Regions from separate parts of the Homo sapiens genome. Here region 1 is linked to region 2. Evidence: promoter capture Hi-C in 16 types of primary human blood cells and fetal thymus (Javierre and others, 2016). All regions are on one chromosome and are shown on one strand. Each heading gives the region's core, a stretch centred on a gene start or on the middle of the fragment in contact. The rest is flanking DNA. Distances are from core to core; before and after follow the strand shown.

Evidence for each region. Contacts are between HindIII fragments. The CHiCAGO score rates a contact against its expected background, and 5 or more counts as called.
Region 1: a contact is called between a fragment that was not itself captured here and the fragment with the promoter of DEFB123 in region 2, in 1 of 17 cell types (endothelial precursors). The highest score is 5.7, in endothelial precursors.

The regions. Positions count from the first base shown.
Region 1 is chr20:31,504,332-31,511,213 of GRCh38, forward strand. It overlaps the pseudogene CD24P3. Among named protein-coding and RNA genes, the nearest start is that of HM13, 6.7 kb to the right of the region's middle. The HindIII fragment of the contact is 2,650 bases long and covers 4,005-6,654 here.
Region 2 is chr20:31,437,187-31,444,614 of GRCh38, forward strand. DEFB123 (defensin beta 123) reads left to right here and starts at 3,446. Exons shown (of 2, transcript NM_153324.4): 1 at 3,446-3,570. The coding sequence starts at 3,513. The HindIII fragment of the contact is 4,618 bases long and covers 1-3,906 here.

The DNA of each region.
Region 1 (6,882 bases), core at 4,080-6,579, 69 kb after region 2:
ATCACAGCTCACTGCAGCCTCAACCTCCTGGGCTCAATGATCCTCCCACCTCAGCCTCCTGAGTAGCTACAGACGCGTGCCACCACACTTGGTTAATTTTTGGTTTTTTGGGTTTTGTTTTTTTGGTAGAGACAGAGTCTGTGTGCCCAGGCTGGTCTTGAAGTCCTGGCCTCAAGAGATCCTCCCTCCTCAGCTTCCCAAAGTGTTGAGATTACAGGTATGGGCCACTGCACCCAGCCGCCGCTCCCTTATATTTCTGTCTGCTACTTCTCTCCTTCCCACAAATTCCTGTTCACCTCTAATGCAAAGCAGATTTGCCATTTCAGCCCTGCCAGCCAGGGTGCTTAGGGCTCACATTTTCCTCAAGCAGGTTGCCATGGTATCTTCGTGTAATGTACATATATATATACTGTCCCCTCCCTAGGAAAAATACCAGTATCAGGACAACAGCATTTTTACCCAGATACATTGTGAGGCTAGCATTCATTCTATGACCCTGACGTTCATCCCATGACCGTCGATTTTTTTTTTTTTTTTTTTTGAGACAGAGTTTCACTCTTGTTGCCCAGGCTGGAGTGCAATGGTGCAATCTCGGCTCACTGCAACCTCCTCCTCCTGGGTTCAAGTGATTCTCTTGCCTCAGCCTCCCGAGTAGCTGGGATTACAGGCATGCGCCACCACACCCGCCTAATTTTTTGCATTTTTGGTAGAGATGGGGTTTCATCAGGTTGGCCAGGCTGGTCTCGAACTCCTGACCTCAGGTAATCCATCCGCCTCGGCCTCCCAGAGTGCTGGGATTACAGGCGTGAGCCACCGCACCCGGCCTGACATTCAACATCTTATGGCTTGGTCTGAGATTATGGAAATCCTCACTGACCTCAGGTTCAGCCTGTGTAACAGAAGCCTCACCACCCACCCCAGAGGCCTTTGAGAGTAGAACTGGACACCCTTCAAGACTCCCCTGACCAACTTGAGCCAAGGAAGCTCACAGATCTGGGAGCTTCTAGGTTCCTGCAGCAAATCATAACATGTTAACTCAGTTCCTGAGGGCTGCTGTTTGTAGCAAGCCTGGTTTTCTGTGAAAGAGAATGAAGACAAAGCAGATAAAAACAGAAAGGAGATGCAGAGAGAGGATCCTGGCAGCATGGACATCCTGGCTTCCAGGGGTTAGTGAGGCCCAATTCCATCCCTGCCTGTCCTTGCAGGGGTTTGGTTATTCACCTCTTCCTTGGAGTTCAAGAGGCCAATGCATTCCAGCCTTCGCCTAAAGCGTTTCAAACTGTGCTTCCAGCCCTTGCAAATCACAGAACCCTGAGTCTGTCAGAGGTTCTCTCTCTGACACTTCCCATTCCCTTTGCAAATCTAGCCTCCATCCCCAACTCAACAAAGAACAAAGGGAACTCTGAAATGACAATTTTCTCTTAAAGTCTTCAATTTTCCCTTTTGTTTTCTATTTTGAAAGGAGCAGAGTGACAAGTTCATTATACTCATTCCTTCCTCCTAGCCTATCATCACCATTTTCCAAAAGGGCCCGGCTTTATTTTACTTCCGTACCTATTTTTTTGTTGTTTTAATCCCAGTTGCCACTCTCATTCCCAACCCTCTATAGGCAACCATTCCAATGTGCTTGACGTACATTCTTTAATATGTAAATGACCTTGTTAGATTTGCTATGTAGACTTCTGATATATACCTTTGTCAGAGGTGCTTGAACCAGAGCAACTCCATCTTGAGTAGGGGCTGGGTAAAGTTAGGTGGAGACCTACTGGGCTGCATTCCCAGGCAGTTATGCATTCTTAGTCACAGGATGAGATAGGAGGTCAGCACAAGATACAGGTCACAAAACCTTGCTGATAAAACAGGATGCAGTAAAAAAGCTGGCAAAAACCCACCAAAACCAAGATGGCAACAAAAGTGACCTCTGGTCCTCCTCACTGCTCATTAAATGCTAATTATAATGCATTAGCATGCTAAAAGACACTCCCACCCATGCCGTGATAGTTTACAAATGCTATGGCAATGTCCAGAAGTTACCCTTTATGGTCTAAAAAGGGGAGGAACCCTCAGCTCCAAGAATTGCCCACCCCTTTCCCAGAACACTCATGGATAATCCACTCCTTGTTTAATATATAATCCAGAAATAACTATAAATATACTCAGTCAAGCAGCCCATGCAGCTGTTCTGCCTATGGAGTAACCATTCTTTCATTCCTTTGGTTTTTTTTTTTTTTTTGATACAGAGTCTTACTCTGTCACCCAGGCTGGAGTGCAGTGGCGCGATCTCAGCTCACTGCAACCTCCACCTCCCGGGTTCAACTGATTCTCGTGCCTCAGCCTCCTGAGTAGCTGGAATTACAGGCATGCGCCACCACACCCAGCTAATTTTTATTACAGATGGGGTTTCACGTTGTTGGCCAGGCCGGTTTCAAACTCCTGACCTCGTGATCCGCCCGCCTCGGCCTCCCAAAGTGCTGGGATTACATGCCTGGGCCACCACGCCCGGCCGTACATTAGCTATTAAAAAAAATAAAACATAGAAAATAAAATCTCCTTTATCCTTCAAGATTTGGTTCAAATGCCCACTCCACTGGGAGCCCTTCAATGGCAGAGACTGCTGTTGCCTCCTAACTTCCATTCTCCTCCTCTTTCATTGTAAGAAAACTCCTGCACTCTGCAGCTTGGCTTTTTTTTTTTTTTTTTTTTTTTTTTTTAGACAGAGTCTTGCTCTGTCACCCAGGCTAGAGTGCAGTGGCACAATCTTGGCTCACTGCAACCTCCAACTCCTGGGTTCAAGCAATTCTGTCTCAGCTTCCTGAGTAGCTGGGACTACAGTCACACACCACCACGCATGGCTAATTTTTGTATTTTTGTATTTTTTTTTTTTTGAGACGGAGTTTTGCTCTTGTTGCCCAGGCTGGAGTGCAATGGCGCGATCTCGGCTCACCACAACCTCCGCCACCCAGGTTCAAGCAATTCTCCTGCCTCAGCCTCTCAAGTAGCTGGGATTACAGGCATGCGCCATCACGCCTGGCTAATTTTTTTTGTATTTTGAATAGAGACGGGGTTTCTCCATGTTGGTCAGGCTGGTCTCAAACTCCTGACCTCAGGTGATCCGCCCACCTCGGCCTCCCAAAGTGCTGGGATTACAGGCATGAGCCAGCACGCCCGGCCTAATTTTTGTATTTTTAGTAGAGACGGAGTTTCACCATATTGGTCAAGTTGGTCTCAAACTCCTGACCTCAGGTGATCCACCCGCCTCAGCCTCCCAAAATGCTGGGATTACAGGCGTAAGCCACTGCGCCTGGCGCAGCTTGGCATATTTTTTTTTAAAAGAAAAAAAATAATATTCCATTTTTATCTAGGCAATTGCAAGATTTCCAATAACTAGCTTAATGCTGTCCCACTAATAGAGTGCACACAGCCTCCCTTGTGGCTAAACATGACCAGGTAATTATGGTCTGGCCAATTAAATGTAAGTAGAAGCATTATATAGAACTCCTGGAGTGATTGTCAGAGGGGAGGGGATGAAAACTCTTTTGCTCTTTCCTCCTCCTTCCAGACTACAATTTGAACAAGGTGTCCAGAGCTTTAGCATCCTTCTTAGATCATGAGGTGACCTTGAGGATGGAAGTCCTATGCTAGAACGATGAATACAATAGACAGAAGGAGCTGGATCCCCGATAGCCATGGAGCTGCTGTACTGGCCCTGAGCTGCCTGACTCCACATTTCTTTAAATTCATCTGTTTTAAATTTTTTTTTTTAAACAGACTCTCACTCTGTCACCCAGGCTGGAGTGCAGTGGCATGATCTCGGTTCACTGCAGCCTCCTCCTCCTGGGTTCAAGCAATTCTCATGGCTCAGCTTCCCGAGTAGCTGGGACTACAGGTGCACACCACTATGCCTGGCTAATTTTTGTATTTTTAGTAGAGACAGGGTTTCACCATTTTGGCCAGGCTGGTCTTGAACTCCTGAGCTCAGGTGATCCGCCCACTTGGCCTCCCAAAGCTTTGGGATTACAGGTGTGAGCCACTGCGCCTGGCCTCTTTAAGTTCATCTGTTTTAAATTGTTGTTATTTGGAGGTTTTCTGTTGCATGCAACCAGCCAAACCTAATCATAACTGACATGTTGTTCTGGTTATCTATTGCTGCATAAAGAGGAACTCCCAAAAGAACTATTTTGTCAAACTTACTGATTCTGGGGATCAGGAGTTTTGACAGGACTTTGTGGGCATGGCTTGACTCTGCTCCATGCTCTCTGGAGCCCCAGCTGGGAAGACTTGATGGTTTAGTGTGACTCAAGCAGCTGGGGACTGGGATCATCTGGAGGACTCTTCACTCACATGTCTGGCACCTGGACTGAGATAACAAAAAGACTGGACTCAGCTGGCATTGCTGACTGAAGCATCTACACATGGCTTCTCCATGTGACTTGGGCTTCCTTACAACATGGCAGTCTCTGGGCAGTCAGACTTGTTAAAAGTGGCTCAGAGGTCCTTGAGCAATTGTTCCACTGAACAAGGTGGAAGCTGTTTGGCTTCTTCCTTATTTCCTTTTTCTTTAATTTCCTCTAAAATATTTTATCTTCTTGTTTGGCCTCTTCTGACCTCGCTTCAGAAGTCATGCAGCATCAACCTTGTCTGCAGCTGCCCTGAGCCAGCAGTTCTCTACACACCCAGCATCAGCATCAAGTGAGATGCACCCAGCACGGTTGGAGCAGGCATGGGCAGAGCAATGGTAGCCAGGCTCCAGCAGGGGCTGCAACTTCTGGCACTGCTCCTACGGATGCAGATTTATACAGCTCAAACAACTGCTCTAACTTTTAAGTAACTTCTTCCAGAATAACGGCTGCCCCCAAGTCTAGCGAATGCCACCAATAAGGCATTGACAGTGTCCTGCAGTCAACAGCCAGTCTCCCCCCTCACTCCTCAGGGTCTCACTCTCTTCCTCTTCTCTGCTGTTAAAAGACTCAGGCCAGGCCAGGCATGGTGGCTCACGCCTGTAATCCCAGCACTCTGGGAGGCCGCGGCAGGTGGATCCCCTGAGGTCAGGAGTTCAAGACCAGCCTCAACAACATGGAGAAACCCTGTCTCTACTAAAAATACAAAACTAGCCAGGCATGGTGGCGCATGCCTGTATTCCCAGCTACTGGGGAGGCTGAGGCAGGAGAATCACTTGAACCAGGGAGTCGGAGGTTGCAGTGAGCCGAGATTGTGCCACTGCACTCCAGCCTGGCAACAGAGCTAGACTCCATCTCAAAACAAAAAAAAAAAAAAAAAAAAGTGAAACTATCTCAAAAAAAAGACTCAGGCCAAGACAGGTCTACACTTTCCCATCTTCTAAATTCAATTCAAAGGTCATCTAGAAGGCCAGTATGGCAAGGAAAAAACAAGTCTTCATCAAATCTAGTAGATCTAGATAAAATAAGATACAGGCCAGGCGTGGTGGCTCACACCTGTAATCCCAGCACTTTGGGAGGCCGAGGCGGGTGGATCATGAGGTCAGGAGATCAAGACCATCCTGGCTAACACGGTGAAACCCCGTCTCTACTAAAAATACAAAAAAAAAAAAAAATTAGCCGGGCACGGTGGCGGGTGCCTGTAGTCCCAGCTACTTGGGAGGCTGAGGCAGGAGAATGGCATGAACCCGGGAGGCGGAACTTGCAGTGAGCTGAGATCATGCCACTGCACTCCAGCCTGGGCGAAAGAACGAGACTCCATCTCAAAATAAAATATAAGATCCACATCTTGGTTGGGCGTGGTGGCTCACGCCTGTAATCCCAGCACTTTGGAAGGCCGAGACGGGCAGATCACGAGGTCAGGAGTTTGAGACCAGCCTGACCAACATGGTGAAACCCCATCTCTACTAAAAACACAAAAATTAGCCGGGCGTGATGGCGGGTGCCTGTTGTCCCAGCTACTCAGGAGGCTGAGGCAGGAAAATTGCTTGAGCCCGGGACACAGAGGTTGCAGTGAGCCAAGATCACACTACTGCACTCCAGCCTGGGTGACAGAACAAAACGCCATCTCAAAAAAAAAGATAAGATCCACATCTAATTTTATTGACACAGAAAATGTCAAGAACCCCAAATTTGGTTGGTTTGAAGAACATGTGAAGGGTTTGACTAGATGATGAATGTCAATATTAAATCAGCTGAAGTTTCATATACAAAATGAAGAGGAACAGCATTCAAACTTAGTTAAGACACAATTTCCTTGAGTGGCCAGGCATGGTAGTCATGCCTGTAATCCCAGCACTTTGGGAGGCCAAGGTGAGCAGATCGCTTGAGCCCAGGAATTCAAGACCAGCCTGGGCAACATGGTGAAACCCCATCTCTATAAAAAATGGAAAAATTAGCTGGGCATGGTGGTATATGCCTATAGTCCCAGCTACTCGGGAGGCTGAAGTGGGAGGGTCGCTTGAGCCCAGGAGGTCAAGGCTGCAGTGAGCTGTGATCATGCCATTGTGTTCCAGCCTGGGTGACAGAGTGAAAATGTGCCTTGAAATAAAATTTTCCTTTGAATACGGCTTAAGAAATATGGCCACTTAAAACTCTACCTTGAAAATAAATATAGATTTTATCTTATCTAGAGGTAGAGTGGGAAGTTTTCATTTGGTACATTAAATCTATAAGGCCATAAACAGGTAATATAAAAAGCTTTCATAATTCAATTTATATATAACATGAGAAGGAACTTCCAGGTGTTACTATGAATCTTCTATGTATAGTTACAGTCAATATACTTTATATAAGAGATAATTTTAATACCAATATAATCTAGATAACATTTTACTTTGTTATGTTATCATTGTTCTCTTGGGGAATAAATTTTTTCCTCTGAGGCTCTGGATTTGACATTGAATTTTGTGTGTACTAATTGACA
Region 2 (7,428 bases), core at 2,196-4,695:
AATCAACATCTAATTCATATTTTTAAAAGGTGAGTCTTTAAAAATTCATCTTTTTAAAAGGTGCGGTGGCTTATGCCTGTGGCTCACACGGGGGCTCCCAGCACTTCGGGAGGCCAAGGCAGGAGGATCACTTGAGGCCTAGGGTTTGAGACCAACCTGGCCAACATGGCCAAACCCTGTCTCTACTAAAAATACAAAAAAAATTGGCTGGCATGGTGGTGTGTGCCTGTAATCCCAGCTACTCAGGAGGCTGAGGCACGAGAATTGCTTGAACCTGGGAAGCAGAGGTTGCAGTGAGCCAAGATCGCACCACTGCACTCCAGCCTGGGCAACAGAGCGAGACTCTGTCTCAAAAAATAATAATAATAATTAAATAAATAATAAAAAATAAAAGGTAAGTCTAGCAGCTCAGTAGAGAATGCAAAATCTAAAAGCAAGATGGGAACCCTACCCGAATATCTTGAGCTGAGAGTGAAGGCGATTTGGCTCCCCAAAGGAAAATTAAGGGGCTGTCACTAGAAGAAAAGGAAATCACTGCTGAGCATGCAAAGGTCCATTACAAAGCCTTAGAAGTGAAGTTTCTGGATTGCAGGGCCTGCATGTTTTAAGGATTTGATATTGACAAACAACTTCCAAAAAGTCTGGATTTGGATTTGGATTTCTATGATCAAGGTATCGTTCTTTCCCTACATCCTAGAAAAGTCTAGGATCATCAATAAAATAATACTCTTGGCTAGTGTGGTGGCTCACACCTGTAATCCCAACACTTTGAGAGGCTTAGGCAGGCGGATCACTTGACATCAGGAGTCCGAGACCAGCGTGGCCAACGTGGTGAAACCCCGTCTCTACTAAAAACACGAAAATTACTTTTTTTCTTTTTTTTTTTTTGAGATGGAGTTTCGTTCTGTCTCCCAGGCTGGAGTGCAGTGGTGCGATCTTGGCTCACTGTAACCTCCGCCTCCCGAGTTCAAGCAATTCTCCTGCCTCGGCCTCCTGAGTAGCTGGGATTACAGGCACATGCCACCAGGCCTGGCTAATTTTTTTTTTTTTAGTAGAGATGGAGTTTCACCATATCTGCCAGGCTGGTCTCAAACTCCTGACCTCAAGTGATCTGACTGCCTCGGCCTCCCAAAGTGCTGGGATTACAGGCATGAGCCACTACACCTGGCCTAAAAATACAAAAATTAGCCGGGCATGGTGGTGTGCGTGCCTGTAGTCCCAGCTACTCAGGAGGCTGAGGGACAAGAATTGCTTGAACCCGGGAGGCAAAGGTTGCAGTAAACCAGGATCGCACCACTGCACTCTAGCCTGGGCAACAGAGCAAGATTCCAACTCTCTCTCTATATATATATATATATATATTTTTTTTTCTTGGCAATTTGATTGGAGAAATGATACCTCACTGTCATCTGAATTTGTTTGTCCTTGATTCCTGGTGAGGTTGAGAAGTAGGCCCTTCTGACTCACCATGAACAGGCCATGATGTCTGAGGTGTGCCTGGTGTCTGATGTCTGAGGTGTGCCTGGAGGTGCACATATAAGTCTCCCTCTGCTCCCTTGACATCTCCCTTATCCCCTGCCCATTGTGGATACACAGCTACTCCAGAGTCCTCAGGAGGACTACAAAGGCTTCAAAACAAGAGCAAAATTGCTACATTGACTATGCAAGGAGCAGGCCCAGAGATGGACAATGATTTTGCAAGACCCACACAGTGTACTTGGGAGTTGGGGTCAAGAGAAAAGACCTGTGATATAAGTGGTTCAGAGACTTGGGGGCTGATAAGGGCAGGCTAGAGAATCCTTATCTGAAAACCCAATTACCTTGCCCTGTTTTGGTGTTGAAAACCTGGATTGCTGCATTCTTTTACTTTCTGTGTCTTTTATATAGAAAACCATATAATATGATGGATATATTGATCCCTACTGCACATCTGCCCCAAATCCTTAATTGAAGAGATTGAGACCCAGAAAAAAAAAAAAAGTAATTCTTCCAAGGTCACATAGAAAGCTAGTAGCAGTGTCAGGACTAGTTACCCAATATTTTCAACTCTGCTGTCACTCTCAATACAAAAATCCTCCATATATCCTGGCATTTCAGGCAGTGGGAAAATCTCTTCTTTTAGGGAGAAAAGAATCCAACAGATACATTATTTCTCCAGGCCTGGGCAACAGAGCAAGACCCTGTATCCAAAACAACAACAAAAACAAAAAGATAAAAAATAGTTTTTAAAATTAAGAAAAAAAAAGAAATGAAATGAGCCTCCTTACCAAAAATGAACAGCACAGGAAAGGTGGACTTCCAGGCTTTCCACTGAGTCCCTTCCTAGCCAGTGTCTCTTCTTCTCTTCATTGTAAGGGTTTTAGAAAGAATTATTTACACTTGCTGACCTCACTGTTTCACTTACCTTTCAGTTTTCAACCCCATTGACTGTTTTCTGCCCCTACAGAAATGGCTTTCACTGTTGTTGTTGTTGTTGTTGTTTTTCCCTTGTAATCCCTCTGTATGCTATTATACCCTTGACATCTGTTTCAAGCAGGGTCCAGTCAGAGAAACAGTAACTACAGGATGCAGCTACCACCCGAGGGCTGAGGGAACTAAAGGAAAGAGATGCCTTTTCTTTTCTTTTCTGAGACAGAGTCTTGCTCTGTCGCCCAGTCGGGAGTGCAGTGGCGCGATCTCGGCTCACCACAGCCTCCCCAGGTTCAAGCGATTATCTTGCCTCAGCCTCCCAAGTAGCTGGGATTATAGGCATGCACCACCACACCTGGCTACTTTTTGTATTTGTAGTAGAGATGGGGTTTCACCATGTTGGCCAGGCTGGTCTCGAACTCCTGACCTCAAGTGATCCACCCACCTTGGCCTCCCAAACTGCTGGGATTACAGGCGTGAGCCACCGTGCCCGGCCAAGAATGAGTTTTCAAAACCCGAGTTCAGAAGAAGGATTCTGAGTGGTTGGTTCTCAGATCTCTGAGGAAGCGGAAGGATGACCCTAGGGGGAGGGCCACCGCATGTTAGAACCCAGCAGGGGGCTGTGACAGACAGGCTGGTGCTCGGAGCTTCATCTCTTTCTGCCGTTTTCCTCTCAGTTTTTGCTCTGGTTATGTCATATTTCTCATTTTCAACACCAACATGAGCCTTTGTACAGACATTCCTCCACCTGGAACCCCATTTCAGCTCATCTACCTGTTGCTTTGTATTTATTCTTCAAAACTCTGCCGTCTTCCCTGACCTTCCGGAGCCGGTGTTTGTGGCGCCTCCTGCTGGTCACTGGGTTCAGGCAGTTTGGAGCTGGGTGGAAGGAACGGGTAGTATATTAAGTCTTGGGCCCTGGACCTTGTTGGCTGTCCTCTCCCTGCTGACCTAAATGACAAAGGGAGGGGTGTCCAGTCAGAGTGTGAGGGCTGTACCCGTGGGCAGCTGAGGGAGTGCGAGCCACAGGCCAGGCACTCTCCTTCTCCCATTAGCTCAGCCGTGGCATCGGACTTGCAGCTTCATTTTGGGCTGCCTTAGCCATGAAGCTCCTTTTGCTGACTTTGACTGTGCTGCTGCTCTTATCCCAGCTGACTCCAGGTAACCTGAACCTCCTTAAGGAAGGGGCAGGGCTTAGAGACTAAGGCCTGGTCAGAGAATCCCAAGGGCTAGAAGGATGGGCTGCAGGTTGTCATCTAGCACCACGTATAGGAGGCAGGAGGCGCCTCACCAGCAGCAGGTGCCAGCTGATAGATGACAACTACAACATCCAGAGCTGCTCTCTCAGCGGCTCCATCCCTCCTCTTCCTGCCCAGCTCCAGGGAGCATGTGGGGGTGGCCTAGTGTGTGAGGAGGAGTGGGAGGGGTGAGCAAGAGAAGCAGGAAAGAGGAGAGGCAGGTATGGCCCTTTTGCAAAATAGTCCCCAGAATGAACGAAGCTTTGTGAAGATCACAGCTACCTTAATGGGAGAGAAAGCTCATTTGTACTTAGCTGTCTCTGTGCCAGACTCTGCGCTGGAAGCTAGGACCACGGAGATAAATGACATGGTGCCAGGGGAACTAACTGGAGGAGACAGTTAAATAGCATTTATAACCCAGGGTGACACGGCTGTGGCAGTGGGAAACCAGGGGGCTGGGTACACATGGTCCAGCCCAGGCTGAGGGAAAGGAGAGTCCTCCTGGAGGGATATCCTGAGTCCTAAAAAGTGAGTCGAAAATAGAAAAGGAAGGAGAGGGGAAAGCAGAAGGGTGTCCCAGGCAGAGAGGTCAGCCTATGCAAAGGTTGGATGCGGGAGAGAGCATGGGAGTGTCGGGGACCTGCATAACATGGAGGGGTGGGTTAGGAGAGAGGCGGGGGTAAAGCTGAGGAAGCATTCAAGCTCCAGGTCTCAGTGGGCCTCAAATGCCAGGTGAGGGACCCATGGGAAGGTTTAAACAGAGAAAGACCCTGGTCAGACCTACCACCCACCAATTCCAGCATGAGCCACCTATCCCTTCCTGCTCATCTGGCAGAAGTTTCCACCCACCCTAAGGCTGTCGGCTAACCTTTCTACAGAGTCAGAAACGTGTGAATTTCCTAAACAAGCTGACCTCCGTCCTTGTGTCTTCCTGAGGCCCTAAAACACCACTCACCTGGAGTAGGGAGGAAAGCCCAGACCCCGGGTTAAAACCTGCCCCATCATTTTCTGACTCTGTGAGCCCCAACAAGAAGCTCAGCTGCTCAGAGTATCAATTTCCTCATTTCTCAAACTGCAATAACATCAAGTGTGTAATAATATCAGGTTGAGGGAACAACATTGAACACACTGAAATTTTGGTCTGCAAAAGAAATATGGCTTCTCTATTTTCTCTAACTCACCAAACTTTCCCAGGAACTTCCATCCTGACTGTGGGAGTTAGTGGTGGGAGGAGCAGGACTACAGAGATAAATGACATGGCACCAGGGGAGCAAACTAGGGGAGACAGTTAAATAGCACTTACAACCCAGGGTGACAAGGCACATAGGGGCTGGGCCTGAACTCAGCAGTTCAATATTTGTCTTTTCTGTTTTAAAATGATTTCTAAGCTAATTCAATCTCTTTTGAATAAGTGTTGAGTCTTTCAGCATGTCTCTTTCTTCCATCACCCTTTCTCTTTCCTGGGATAGTATCTGGTTACAGGGAAAAGTAACTTGATATGTCATCAAATAATTAATTGCTTCATTCAGTAAATACAGTTGAATGGATTTCTTGTTCCAAGCACTGTGATGGGTGCTAGAGGTAGAACTGGGAACAAAACAAGATAAGCAAAATCTCTGTCCTCTTGGAGCTTACCTTCTACTGGAGGACCCAAAGAATTTGAAAAATAAATGAAACATATGGTATGTCAGATAATGAGTACAGTGAGCAGAATAGGCAGGAAAGGAAATAGTGAACACCAGGGGAAGGGGAAGGTCATTTGCTTTTTTTTTTTTTTTTTTTTTGGAGACAGGGTCTTGCTCTGTCACCCAGGCTGGAGTGCTGGAGTGTAGAGGCACGATCTTAGCTCACTGCAACCTCCACCTCCCGGATTCAAGCAGTTTTCATGCCTCAGCCTCCTAAGTAACTGGGATTACAGGCGCCTGCAACCACGCCTGGCAAATTTTTGTATTTTTAGTAGGATACGGTTTGGCCATGTTGCCCAGGCTGGTCTTGAATCCCTGACCTCAAGCAATCTGCTTGCCTCAGCCTCCCAAAGTGCTGGGATTACAGGCTTGAGCCACCATGCCCGGTCTTTGCCATTTTTAAGGGGTTGTTCATGGAATGTCTCACTGTGACCTGAGGGAACAACCGGTGTGAGCATGTGGCTATGGAGGGAAGGAAATTCAAGCTGGGGAAAACAGCAAGTGCAAGGGTCCTGGGATAGGAACATAAGGAGGTGGGGTCAGGTCCTGTGCTGGACCCTTACTGACTTCTGGGATCACGACCCTCGTTGGATGTGGTTAGTAGCGTCCTGCTAGCACTTACTACTGGATTTCATGACTGATGAAATCTCTCAGCCCTTTTGGGGTCCCCACTGACTCGACCCTTCATCTCAGCCAGATCTTCCATCTGGTCCCCAAGTTAAGGCTGTTCACACCCTCCCTTACTGCCTTCTGCACTAGGGGTGTACTCTTGGCAGGTCCCTCACTGGTTTTCCTATCTCAGCCAGAGACAAGGGAACCTGGGGACCTTCTGGGTCTATTTTATTCAACAGAGAGCTGACAGTGATGCTCAGCCACTTCCCTTAGCCATTTCTAATCCCCCTTCAGGTAGCACCATGCAGTGCTATATCCATGCTAAAGATAAGAATTTCTCTGAAGAGCTACCAGTTTCCCTGAGCTATGCTCTAAGAGGCAGAGAGTAAGTGTCTTCTGCGTTGGCAATTTCTTTCGACCAATCTGGGTATTCATAGCAAGAGACTCTCTTGCCCCTACCTTTCTCACATTAATTATCTCTACTTCCTGAGTGTTCAGGTCAACCAGTAGACTGCTAGCAGGAGACACACGAAAGGCCTTTGTCCCTAGCTTGTTGGTGGGTCCACCATCAGGCTGGCAGAATGAGGCATGGGTTCTAGCAGGGCTCTCAGGCCCACTGCTGCTGCTGCGGGAGCTGGATTTAAACTTCCAGCTTCCCCAGAAATTATGGGCAGAGTATTTCCCCTCTACTTCCTGTTGGGTATGGTAGTGGTGACAGAGGTTAAATGGAAGCTACTTTAGCTGGACCCTCAGCCTTAGCCTCCTATAGCTTATGATGAAGTGGTATTGTCTGAACCCCCCAGGTTCATCTAATAATGTATAAAGGAGCTCTTTGAAATTTGGAAATCCCTGAACTTCCTTAACAAATGTTGGTCCTTAAAATGGTCTTTCCATGCACAACCCTTATCTCATTTAAGCTGAGCAATGAGTTTGCTGTTCTGTTGTTCACCATTCCCCCAAAACCCAGAAACTCTGCCCAATTCTGCTTTTTGACAACCAATGGATTTTATGATTAAAGGGGATTGAAATATGCATCACTTCAATATTTTCAAAATATTGTCATACTCACCGTTAGGTTAATTGTGGGAATTCAGGAGACATATGTAAAGCCCAGAAACCCAGCAGAGATGAGATTTAGGTGGGACACCTGCCCTTCCATTATACATCCTCACAGCACCCTGAGTTCGTTCTTTATAATTTTTATCATACTCTAGTTAATCAAATATCTGGGTATCTATTTTTTAATGGCTCTTTCTCCCCTCATTAGACTGGAAGTTCTCTGAGGGTAGGTGTCTCACTCATTTATAGTTTTATCTCCAGTGTATAGGCCTCTCAGTCTATACATGTGAGTATTTCCCTGGTGTAGACATCTGGAAAGGAATTGCTAGGTAAAGACTGTGTATAGTTTTAAAATGTGTAAGTTATTGCTCAGTAGGCTCCACAGATGCTAAAAAAGTGTATGAGTGTCATTCCTTTCACTCACC